2 separate regions of the Homo sapiens genome follow, and region 1 is linked to region 2. Evidence: promoter capture Hi-C in human tissues and cell types (Jung and others, 2019). All regions are on one chromosome and are shown on one strand. Each heading gives the region's core, a stretch centred on a gene start or on the middle of the fragment in contact. The rest is flanking DNA. Distances are from core to core; before and after follow the strand shown.

Evidence for each region. Contacts are between HindIII fragments. The study calls those that stand out against the background at their distance.
Region 1: a contact is called between the fragment with the promoter of MAP2K2 here and a fragment that was not itself captured in region 2, in 2 of the 25 tissues and cell types used here (dorsolateral prefrontal cortex and spleen).

What each region holds. Positions count from the first base shown.
Region 1 is chr19:4,120,698-4,126,313 of GRCh38, reverse strand. MAP2K2 (mitogen-activated protein kinase kinase 2) reads left to right here and starts at 2,192. Exons shown (of 11, transcript NM_030662.4): 1 at 2,192-2,530. The coding sequence starts at 2,439. RefSeq lists silencers at 2,040-2,159, 2,350-2,599. The HindIII fragment of the contact is 9,633 bases long and covers 1-5,616 here.
Region 2 is chr19:3,750,282-3,755,958 of GRCh38, reverse strand. APBA3 (amyloid beta precursor protein binding family A member 3) reads left to right here. Exons shown (of 11, transcript NM_004886.4): 4 at 1,619-1,764; 5 at 1,854-1,940; 6 at 2,033-2,194; 7 at 2,969-3,139; 8 at 3,239-3,451; 9 at 4,406-4,525; 10 at 4,630-4,770; 11 at 4,862-5,187. The coding sequence ends at 4,933. TJP3 (tight junction protein 3) reads right to left here. Exons shown (of 21, transcript NM_001267560.2): 21 at 5,146-5,377. The coding sequence ends at 5,275. Among named protein-coding and RNA genes, the nearest start is that of APBA3, 8.6 kb to the left of the region's middle. The HindIII fragment of the contact is 3,385 bases long and covers 295-3,679 here.

The DNA.
Region 1 (5,616 bases), core at 943-3,442, 370 kb before region 2:
TTTAGTAGAGACGAGGTTTCACCATGTTGGCCAGGTTGGTCTCGAACTCCTGACCTCAAGTGATCAGCCCACCTCAGCTTCCCAGGGTCCTGGGATTACAGGTGTGAGCCACGGCACCTGGCAAAAAATTAAATTTTTTTTTGTTCTGTTTTATTGGAGACGGAGTCTTACTTTGTCGCCCAGGCTGGAGGGCAGTGGTGCAATCTTGGCTCACTGCAACGTCTGCCCCCCGGGTTCAAGCGATTCTCCTGCCTCAGCCGCCTGAGTAGCTGAGACTATAGGCACACACCGCCAGGCCTGGCTAATTTTTGTATTTTATTTATTTATTTGTTTGTTTGTTTGTTTGTTTGATTTTTTTGAGACGAAGTCTCGCTCTTGTCTCCCAAGCTGGAGTGCAATGGCGTGATCTTGGCTCACTGCAACCTCTGCCTCCCGGGTTCAAGCAATTCTTCTGCCTCAACCTCGCGAGTAGCTGGGATTACAGGCACGCGCCACCATGCCCGGCTAATTTTTGTATTTTTTTGTTTTAGTAGAGACGGGGTTTCACCATGTTGGCCAGACTCGTCTTCAACTCCTGACCTCAGGTGATCCACCCGCCTCGACCTCCCAAAGTGCTGGGATTACAGGCGTGAGCCACCGCGCCCAGCCTATGACCTTTCTTATAAAGTGGTACGGCTATTGTATTAAATAGTAAGGTGGTGCTTCAAAAAGTTCAACATAGAATTACCATATAATCCAGTAATTCCTCTTCAGAACATATACCCAAAAGAACTCAAGGCAAGGACTCAAACAGATATTTGTACATCTGTGTTCATAGCGGCACGATTCACCGAAGTGTCTAGTGGCAGATAAATGGATAAGCAAAATATAGTCCATGCACACAATAGAATATTATTCAGCCTTAAAAAGGAGGAAAATCCTGACTGGGTGCGGTGGCTCACGCCTGTAATCCCAGCACTTTGGGAGATCGAGGCGGGTGGATCACGAGGTCAGGAGATGGAGACCATCCTGGCTAACACGGTGAAACCCCGTCTCTACTAAAAATACAAAAAAATTAGCCGGGCATGGTGGTGGGCACCTGTAGTCCCAGCTACTCGGGAGGCTGAGGCAGGAGAATGGCGTGAACCCGGGAGGCAGAGTTTGCAGTGGGCCGAGATCGCACCACTGCACTCCAGCCTGGGTGACAGAGCGAGACTCCGTCTCAAAAAAAAAAAAAGGGAAATTTTTCTTTTTTTTTTTTTTTCTGCTCTTTTTTGGAGCAGGGCTACCCGATTGGAAGTATGCCCGGAGTAGTCAAGTGGGTAAATTCTAACACAGGTTACAACGTGGATCTAACACAGCTACAACAGGCACCTTGAGGACGTGGCCCTCAGTGAAATATGCCAGCCACAAAGGGACAAAACCTGTGTGATCCTACTCATATGAAGTCCCTAGAATCATCAGATTCACAGGAAGTACGACGTTGGGTTCCAGGGGCTGGGGAGGGGGATAGGGAGTGAGGTTTCATAGGGGACAGTGTTTCAGTTTCGGAAGATGAGAAAATTCTGGAGATGGTGGTGGTGGTGGTTGCTTAATGCCGCTGAGCTGTGCATTTAGAAATGGTTAAAATGACAAGTTTTATGTTATGTGTATTTTATAATAAAAATGTTTCAACATGCGCATAGTAATATATGCAATTTTATTTGTCAATTAAAATAAATTTTAAAAATGTTTTAGAGTGGCCTTGTTCTGATGAAGGAGGGGGAGTAACTGACACTCTAAGGCGGTGGGGGCTAGGGGCGTGTGTCCACGCTTGCCAAAAAGATTAAATGGACTCTGGGTGGGTCTCGTCCACTGTTCTGGGGTCTTACGGGTTCTCTCAGCCCCAGCCTGGGGCACCACAGGCTCTCAGGAGTCTGGCTACCCTGCCCACCTGTGCACGACCATCACCCCAGCCTTCATCCCTCCGTCTCCTCCCCTGCTCCCGCGCCTCATGCCCCAAGCGCTTGGGCACACGCGCCGTGGTAAGGCAAGCGAGGGCGCCCGGTCCCGGCACCGCCTCGCGTCGGTCTCCGCCCCTTTCCCCTCCGAAAGGCGGCCTTGTGCTGCTGCGCAGGCGCGGCGGCTGGGGGTGGGGTCCATCGCGGCTCCCGATCCCGTTATCGCGAGAAGCCGGTCCGCGATCTTGTGGCCGCCCCTCCCCTCCCCCTGCCTCTCGGACTCGGGCTGCGGCGTCAGCCTTCTTCGGGCCTCGGCAGCGGTAGCGGCTCGCTCGCCTCAGCCCCAGCGCCCCTCGGCTACCCTCGGCCCAGGCCCGCAGCGCCGCCCGCCCTCGGCCGCCCCGACGCCGGCCTGGGCCGCGGCCGCAGCCCCGGGCTCGCGTAGGCGCCGACCGCTCCCGGCCCGCCCCCTATGGGCCCCGGCTAGAGGCGCCGCCGCCGCCGGCCCGCGGAGCCCCGATGCTGGCCCGGAGGAAGCCGGTGCTGCCGGCGCTCACCATCAACCCTACCATCGCCGAGGGCCCATCCCCTACCAGCGAGGGCGCCTCCGAGTGAGTGGGCAGGGGTCAGCCGGAGGCTTGGGGTGCACGGGGCAGGGAGCCCTCGGGGAAGGACGGGGCGAGGGGACGGGGGTTCGCGAGGAGTGCACGAGGCAGGGGGGTCACGGGGGAGGACGGGGTGAGTGGTGCACGGGGCAGGGGGTTCTCGAGGGGAGGACAGGGCAGGGGACCCTCGGGGGAGGACGGGGCAGGGGGCCCTCGGGGGAGGACGGGGCAGGGGGCCCTCGGAGGACGGGGCGAAGGGTGCACGGGGCAGGGGGGTCTTTGAGCAGTGAGATTGGGCGAGGGGAGGTCCTTGTGGTGGAAAAGATGGGGTGTGGGGTTCCTGAAGAGTGGAATTGGGATAACGGGAGTCTCTGAGTAGTGAAGTTGGGGTGAAGGATGTCTCTAAGAGGAGAGGATGGGGACAGGGGTCCCTGAGCAGCGAGGTTGAGTGAGGGGAGGTCCCTGCAGTGCAGAAGATGGGGTGTGGGGCTTCTGAAAAGTGAAGCTGGGGTGAGGGGAGTCCCTCAGTAGGAAAATCGGAATGAGGGGTGTCCCCAAGGAGAGAACAGGATGAGGCTCCCCAAGCAGTGAGATCGGGGTGAGGGGTATCTCTAAGAGGAGAGAACACAGTGTGGGGTCCTTGAGTAGTGAAATGAGGGTGAAGAGTTCCTAAGAGGAAAGGACGGAGTAAAGGTTGCCGTAGTCATGAGATGAGGGTGAGGGGAGACCCTGAGTAGGGAAATCGGGGTGCAGGGCATTCCTGAGAGGAGAGGATGGGGTGTGGGGAGGTCAGGCAGCCCCTGAGGAGGAAATCTGGGCAAGGGGGCTCCAGAGGGGAGAGGATGGGGTGAGGGGTCCCTGAGTAATGAGACTGAGATGGGGTAGGGTCCCTGGTAGGAAAAGACGGGGTAAGGGTCCCTCAATAATGAGATAGGGCCAAGGGAGGTCCCTGTGGGAAAAGACAGGGCATGGAGTCACTGAGTAGCAGAATGGTGGTAGGTCTCTGAGTAGTGAAATGGGGTGAACGGTCCCTGAATAGTGAAATCGGGGAGATGGTGGGGTCCCTGAGTAATGAGATTGGAGTGAGGGGAGATCCCTTTGGGGAAAAGATGGGGTTTGGAATCCCTAAGTCGTGAGATCAGGCCAAGGAGATGTCCTTGCAGAGAGAAGATGGGGTGCAGGGCCCCTGAATTGTGAGATGGGGTTGAGGGGGTCCCTGGGAGGAGAGGATGTGTCGGTGGGGGCCTGTGGGGGAAGGATAGGCAAGGGGTGTTCTGCATATTGAAATGATAGTGAAGCGAGTCCCTTGGGGGAGAGATGGGGTGAGGGGGTCCCTATGGGGGAAAGATGGGGTGGGAGGGTTCCTATGGGGGAGAGATGGGGTGAGGGGGTCCCTATGGGGGAGAGATGGGGTGGGAGGGTCCCTATGGGGGAGAGATGGGGTGAGGGGGTCCCTATGGGGGAGAGATGGGGTGAGGGGGTCCCTGTGGGGGAGAGATGGGGTGGGAGGGTCCCTATGGGGGAGAGATGGGGTGGGAGGGTCCCTATGGGGGAGAGATGGGGTGGGAGGGTCCCTATGGGGGAGAGATGGGGTGGGAGGGTTCCTATGGGGGAGAGATGGGGTGGGAGGGTGCCTGAGCCACAGGTTGAGAGTGCAGCACCTGGGTGGGGAGGACAGGCTGAGAGGTCTTGGGGGGGCGGGGAGCGGTCCTTTTGGGGAATGAGTCCCTGAGTAATGAGGTTGGCATGGGATGAAGAGGGCACCTAGGGTGCCAAGGTGGGGCAGGGGGGTCCCTTAGGGGAGAGGATGGGGTGAGGAGGTCCATAGACAACCAGGGAAAAGGGAAGAGAGGGGAGGACAGGGGGCTCCCAGAAGGGTCAGGATGTGGGAGAGGGGTGTCCTAGGGGGTCACGATGGGGTGGGAGACCCTAGAAAGGTCAGGATCGGGGGACTTTGGGGGGGTCAGGGTGGGAGTTCTGGGGTATCTGAGGACAAGGGGGTGTCTTAGGGGTGTCAGGACATGGGGGGGCTTTAGCGGGGTCAGGATGGGAGTTCTAGCGGGTTCCAGATGGAGGGGTTTCTGCTGGGGGAGGTCTAGTGGGATCAGGACAGGGGTTCCAGGGGGTTCATGTTGTGGGGGGGGTCAGGTTGGGTCCTCGGGGGTCATGTTGGGGGATTCTGGGGGGGTCAGGTTAGGGGGTCCTCGGGGGGTCATGTTGTGGGGGTTCTGGGAGGGCAGAGCAGGGGGTCCTAGGGGTCTCATGTTGGGGTTCTGAGGGGGTCAGGATGGGGTCCCAGGGAGGTCAAGATGTCAAGATGGGCATCTCTGAGAGGGCATCTCCTGCTTGTGGCGGTGCCCAGTGTGTGGAGTCCCTGAAGCTGGAAGTGTGAGGAGACAGGGAAGCCAGAGTGTGAGGAACGAGGAGGCGTGGGGATCAGGGGACCCTGCTGGCCCCTGAAAGCAGAGGTGCAGATTCTGAAGTGAGTGGACCGGAAAACCCTTGTGAGGGGCTGACCCAGTGCAGAAGCTTTGAGGAGGTGGAGGGCGACCAGAGGCCTGGGTGAAGGGATCTGAGAAAGGGGTATGCTGGGGTCCGGGTGGCGTGCTGGCAGAATCGCACTGCTCCAGGACGAGGGAGGGGACTGGGTGTTGGGGGCACACACTGGTGGGGTCATGCCAGGGTGATCTCTGCACTCCCGTTCTGCAGGCCGAGGCAGGGCAGGGCGATCCCCGGGGCCCTTGGCTGGGGTCCGGGTGCCGTGCCTGCGGTGTGACCCCTCAAGAACCAGGTGTCAGGGACTGTGGCATGTCTGGTGGCCTCTCCCGCTTGGGGGTCGGCCTTCTGTGACCCAGATGAAGACTCTTGATGCCAATGTGTGCAAGTCAACACGGGCACAGCCAGACACGGGGACCCGTTCCTCATTCTCTGCACAGAACTCGCCCTTCACATTTCTCTTCCGTGTGGGGTTTGATTCCCATCTCTTGAAGGATTCCCCCAGGAGAGGAAGCTGGCTGTAGGGACGCCAAGGTTTTGTTTTGTTTTGTTTAATAACCACAGTTGGGTTGCCAGTAAATTTAAGATGGATTAGT
Region 2 (5,677 bases), core at 738-3,237:
CCAGAACGGGGCCCTACACCCGTGGTTCTAAACCAAAGAGCCGTAGTTACTGGTTAGAATGTTCTAGGGCCACTGGCAGAGCTGTCTGGCTCTGGGTAGCTCAGGGAATTCTAGAACCATGAGAGTAAAGCTTTTTTTTTTTTTTCCTTTTTGTTTTTGGAGATGGAATCTTGCTCTGTCACCCAGGCTGGTGTGCAGTGGTGCGATCTCTCTCGGCTCACTGCAACCTCCACCTCCTGGGTTCAAGTGATTCTCCCGCCTCAGCTTTCAAGTAGCTGGGATTATAGGCACGCGCCACCACGCCCAGCTAATTTTGTATTTTTAGTAGAGACGGGGTTTCGCCATGTTGGCCAGGCAGGTCTCGAACTCCTGACCTCAGGTGATCCACCCCCCCCCCCCGGCCTCCTAAAGTGCTGGGGTTACAGACGTGAGCCACCGCACCCAGCCAGGAGTAAAGCTTTATGTAGTTCTGGGCTGGGTTGGGAGTATTCTGGAACTGTCTAGAATTCTCCTGGAACAGAATTGTTTGTTCCTTGACTGGTCAGGTAATTCTTAGAATCCCTGGTGTAGCCAAAGGTGTGAACTACTGAAGGAGATTCTAGAACCACAGGAAGAGCTGCCTGACGCGATTGTGATTAAGATGTTCTGGAATCACGGAGCAGAGAAGTCTGATTCTAGAGTGATAATAAGATTCTAAAACTCCTGACAGAATTGCTATGAGACCTGTCAGAGAGTTCTGGAATCAAGGGTCAGAACCAGCTGGGGTTCTGGAGAGTATGGGAATTTTAGACAGGCAGCAGGGTCTGTCTCTGTTCTGAGTGGTTCTACAACCCGGGAACAGAGCTGCCTGCTATCCTGGGCTGACTGCAGACGGTTCTAGAACAGTGGGCAGAGCTGGCCAGTTCTAGATTGATGGAGGGAATTCCAGAACCAAGAAGCAGGGGTCCACTGTGGTTCTAGAATGTTGTGGAGGTTTCGAAATTGGAGTGGGGGGTGGAGCGTCGTGGCTCACGCCTGTCATCCCAGTACTTTAGGAGGCCAAGGCGGGTGGATCACTTGAGGTCGGGAGTTTGAGACCAGCCTGGCCAACGTGGCGAAACCCCGTCTCTACTAAAAATACAAAAACTAGCCAGGCGTGGTGGTGGGCGCCTGTAATCCCAGCTACTCATGAGACTGAGGCAGGAGAATCGTTTGAACCCAGGAAGCGGAGGTTGCAGTGAGCTGAGATCACACCACCGAGCTCCAGCCTGGGCGACAGAGCGAGACCGTGTCTCAAAAAAGCAGGAGTGGGACTGTCTGGTTCCGGCCTGATCATGGAATTCTGGGGACACGGGGTGAAGGTATCTGTGGGTGCTAGATCTGGCTTTGAATCCAGCCATGGCCTGGACTCACTGGTTTCCCACCTGCGAGTCCTTGAGGGATGGACAGAAGGTTCTAGACCTGTGAGGGCCAGGCTGCTTGGATGGTTCTAGAACAGTGGGCTGTGCTTCCTGGCTGGAGAGTGCTAAGCCACCAGCTAGAACACTGTGTCTCCCGGCCATCTCGGAGAGCGTAGCCCTGGGGCAGAGCCTGTGGGAGTGGGCCCCTGGGGGCCGACCCTCTTCGCTGTCGCCCTCAGTGCCTGGTCCCTGTGACCATGAAGACCTCCTGGACGGTGTCATATTTGGGGCCAGGTACCTGGGGTCCACCCAGCTGGTGTCGGAACGGAACCCGCCCACCAGCACGCGCATGGCCCAGGCCCGGGAGGCCATGGACCGCGTCAAGGTGAGGGGGCGGCCGGGGCCGGGCGGGCAGGCGGGTGGGCTGCAGGCTGGGTCTGTGGGGGCCTCCACCTCCCACGCCGCCACCCACAGGCCCCCGATGGGGAGACCCAGCCCATGACGGAGGTGGACCTGTTCGTCTCCACCAAGAGGATCAAGGTCTTGACAGCGGACTCCCAGGTACGGGGCAGGGACCCGCCCCAGGGATGCGGGTGGGGTGATCGAGCCTGGCACGGCCCCCCAACCCACCCAGGCTGCCTCTCCCGCCCCAGGAGGCCATGATGGACCACGCCCTGCATACCATCTCCTACACAGCCGACATCGGCTGCGTGCTGGTGCTGATGGCGCGGCGGCGGCTGGCACGGAGGCCGGCACCCCAGGACCACGGCCGCCGCCTCTACAAGATGCTCTGCCACGTATTCTACGCGGAGGACGTGAGCAGCCAGGGCGCGGGGCCACCCTCCTGAGGCCCTCCTCACTGCAACTGTCGCCTCCCTCAGTGGGCCGTGCATTTAACCTCCCTCCCATAAGCTTATTTTTAAATTCTTTTTTTGGGACAAGGTCTCCTTCTGTCACCCAGGCTGGAGTGCAGTGGCGCAATCATAGTTCACTGCAGCCTCAACCTTCCAGGCTCAAGCGATCCTCCCACTTCAGCCTCTCTAGTAGCTGGGACCACCGGGGTATCACCATGCCTGGCTAATTTTTGTATTTTTTATAGAGACACGGTCTCGCTCTGTTGCCCAGGTGAACACGGTCTCAAACTCCTGGGCTCAAGCGATCCACCCACCTCAGCCTCCCAAAGTGCTGCAATTACAGGCGTGAGCCACCGCGTCCAGCCTCCTATAAGACTCCAAGACTCTCGGCCGACTCCCCGAAACCTTGCCCGCTCCTGGGCTGTCCCTGCCACCCATGAGGCCCCAGGCCCCCTGGCTGGGTCTTTGATAGCTTTTCCCACAGCCCATGCGCAGGGAGCTGCCTCCCTCATCGTCCCCCCAGCCCAGGGCTGCCCCTCCCCTTCCTTCTCCCCGTAGATTCCCCAAGATGCGGCTGTCTCTCCACCTCCCCCAAAGCCCCAGGGCAGAAGGCTGTGTCCTGGGACTCTCACCCCAGGTGGGGACAGGAGGGCTCAGCTCTGAGGACCCTGGGGACTTTGGGGACCTGGAGGAGGTGGGTGGGACACCCCAGGGACGCGCCACTCCTCCCCGCAGGCCCAGCTCATCGCCCAGGCCATTGGCCAGGCCTTCGCCGCCGCCTACAGCCAGTTCCTACGGGAAAGCGGTATTGACCCCAGCCAGGTGGGCGTGCACCCGAGCCCAGGCGCCTGCCACCTCCATAATGGGGACCTGGACCACTTCTCCAACAGTGACAACTGCCGGGAGGTGAGTGAGGTGCTGGGCAGCCCCCACCTGGTGCCCCCCACACCCGTGCACCTGCACCGGGCCCTGCTGAGCAGCCTCCGCGCCCCCTGTGTGTCCCAGGTGCACCTCGAGAAGCGGCGAGGGGAGGGCCTGGGCGTGGCCCTGGTGGAGTCGGGCTGGGGCTCCCTGCTGCCCACAGCCGTCATCGCCAACCTGCTGCACGGGGGGCCTGCTGAGCGCTCGGGGGCCCTCAGCATCGGGGACCGCCTGACCGCCATCAACGGGACCAGCCTGGTGGGGCTGCCCCTGGCTGCGTGCCAGGCCGCTGTCCGCGTGAGTTTCCTGGTGTGGCAGGGCCCCCACACTCCCAGGAAGGGGAGCTGAGTCCCAGAGAGGTCTCCTCCCTGGCCAGGTCTCTCCAGCCCAGCCAGGAGGGACAAAGTCGAACTTTTAAGTCCTGCCCACTGGTGTGCCCTTGGGGAAACTGAGGCCTGGAGAAGGGAGGCCACTTGTCCAGGGCACCTCCCTAGTACCAGAGCCAGGATGGAAATGCGGGTGGCCCAGCTCCAGGGCTGGGCCACTCTCTCTCTCTAACAAGAAACAGCTAATTTCTGGGGGGGTTTGTTTGTTTGAGACAAGGTCTCACTCTTGCCCAGGCTGGAGTGCAGCGGTGCACCTGGCTCATTGCAGCCTTGACCTTCTGGGCTCAAGCAAATCTCCTTCCTCAGCCTCCCGAGTAGCTGGGACCACAGGTGTGCACCACCACGCCCAGTTTATTGTTTTATTTTTTGTAGAGATGGAGTCTCACTATGTTGGTTGGCCAGGCTGGTCTTGAGCTCCTGGCCTCAAGTGATCCACCTGCCTCGGCCTCCCACAGTGCTGGGATTACAGGTGTGAGCCACTGCACCTGGCCATGTTTTTGAGTCTCAACCTTTGTTGCTCAGATGGGGAAACTGAGGCCCAGAGATAGGGAGGGACCTGCCCCCGTCAGAGGAATGAGGCCACAGTCCGTGCAGCCTCTTACAGATGTTTGCAGCCTGCCTGGAGAGCCCGGCTGTCGGCTTGGCTTTTGGCCATAAGGAAGCGATATGGCTCGGGTCAGACAGCTTCGACCCCATGCCCACCGGGCCCGAGTCTGTTCTCTATCACATCTGAGGGGGTCTTCCAGAATTGAGCCCCTGGACTCCAGGTCTCTGGTTTATGAGAGGGTAAACTGAGGCCCAGAGGGGGCTACAACCTGCCAGGCTGTCCGGCAGCTGAGTGAGGCCAACGGCCCCCGCCCCACAGGAGACGAAGTCGCAGACGTCGGTGACACTCAGCATCGTCCACTGCCCTCCCGTCACCACCGCCATCATCCACCGGCCCCACGCCCGCGAGCAGCTGGGCTTCTGCGTGGAGGACGGCATCGTGAGGCCCCGGCCCCTGGCCCCGGGGTGGGGGGGTAGGGCGGCCCTGAGCACGGCCCCTGAGCAGCCCCCACCTCTTTCCCGTCCCCCTCTTTTCTCCCCCAGATCTGCAGCCTCCTCCGTGGTGGCATCGCCGAGCGTGGGGGCATCCGCGTCGGCCACCGCATCATTGAGATCAATGGGCAGAGTGTGGTGGCCACGCCACACGCCCGCATCATCGAGCTGCTCACCGAGGCCTATGGCGAGGTGTGCGGGTGGTGGGTGGTGGCCAGGGGCGCCCCCACGTCCCCCACGAGCCCAGGCCTGCCCTGAGCCCCGTTCCGCCTCCACTCCCCAGGTGCATATCAAGACGATGCCAGCTGCCACATATCGCCTCCTTACAGGCCAGGAGCAGCCCGTGTACCTGTGACCACCTCATCCCTTGCCTGCCACTGTGCCTTCGCCTCCATGGCCCCGGAGCCCCATCCTGGGCCTGCCCTGGCTGGCCAGGACCCCAGCGGTTCTTGGTCCTGTATGATTTCCTAATATAAAAACAGTAAAAGCTTATGCATTTGGCAAAGTCTCGGATCAGGGTCTACGGGACCGAGGACCTTGTCCTTCCTGGAAGCCACTAGAAGCCGGTGCTGTGAAAATACTCTGTTTATTAAAGACCAGGCGGAGGGAGGTAAGGTTGTGGGTTCTGTATGGGAAACTGAGTCCCAGCCCCAGGGAGGGAGAAGGAGGACGGACCAGCTGGCAGCCTTCGAGAGGTCACAGGTCAGTGGCCGGACCCCAGTCATAGCCGTCTTCATCGGAGGACTCCGCATCATGTACTCGCATAAACTTTTTCTTCAGGGCTTCCCGTTCATAGGTTCTGGGGATCAGGAAATAGAATAGATGCTGTGGGTGGGAAGGGTGTGAGCTTTCTCACCATAAACTGAGGCTGGCTGTGCTAGGCACAGTGGGTGTGGGCAGAGATAAGCACATCTGGGCATTCATGGGTAGGGCCTTGTTAACAAACTCCTATGCATCCCTCAAAGCCCCAGCTGCAATATCCTGCCCTTCAAGAAGCCTTCCTAGGCCTCCCAGGAAGTGGATTCCTACTCCCTTGGCCCTGATTATATGGGGCTTAGAGAGGCTCTGGCAGGCTCTGTCTTCCCCACTAGGCTAGGGG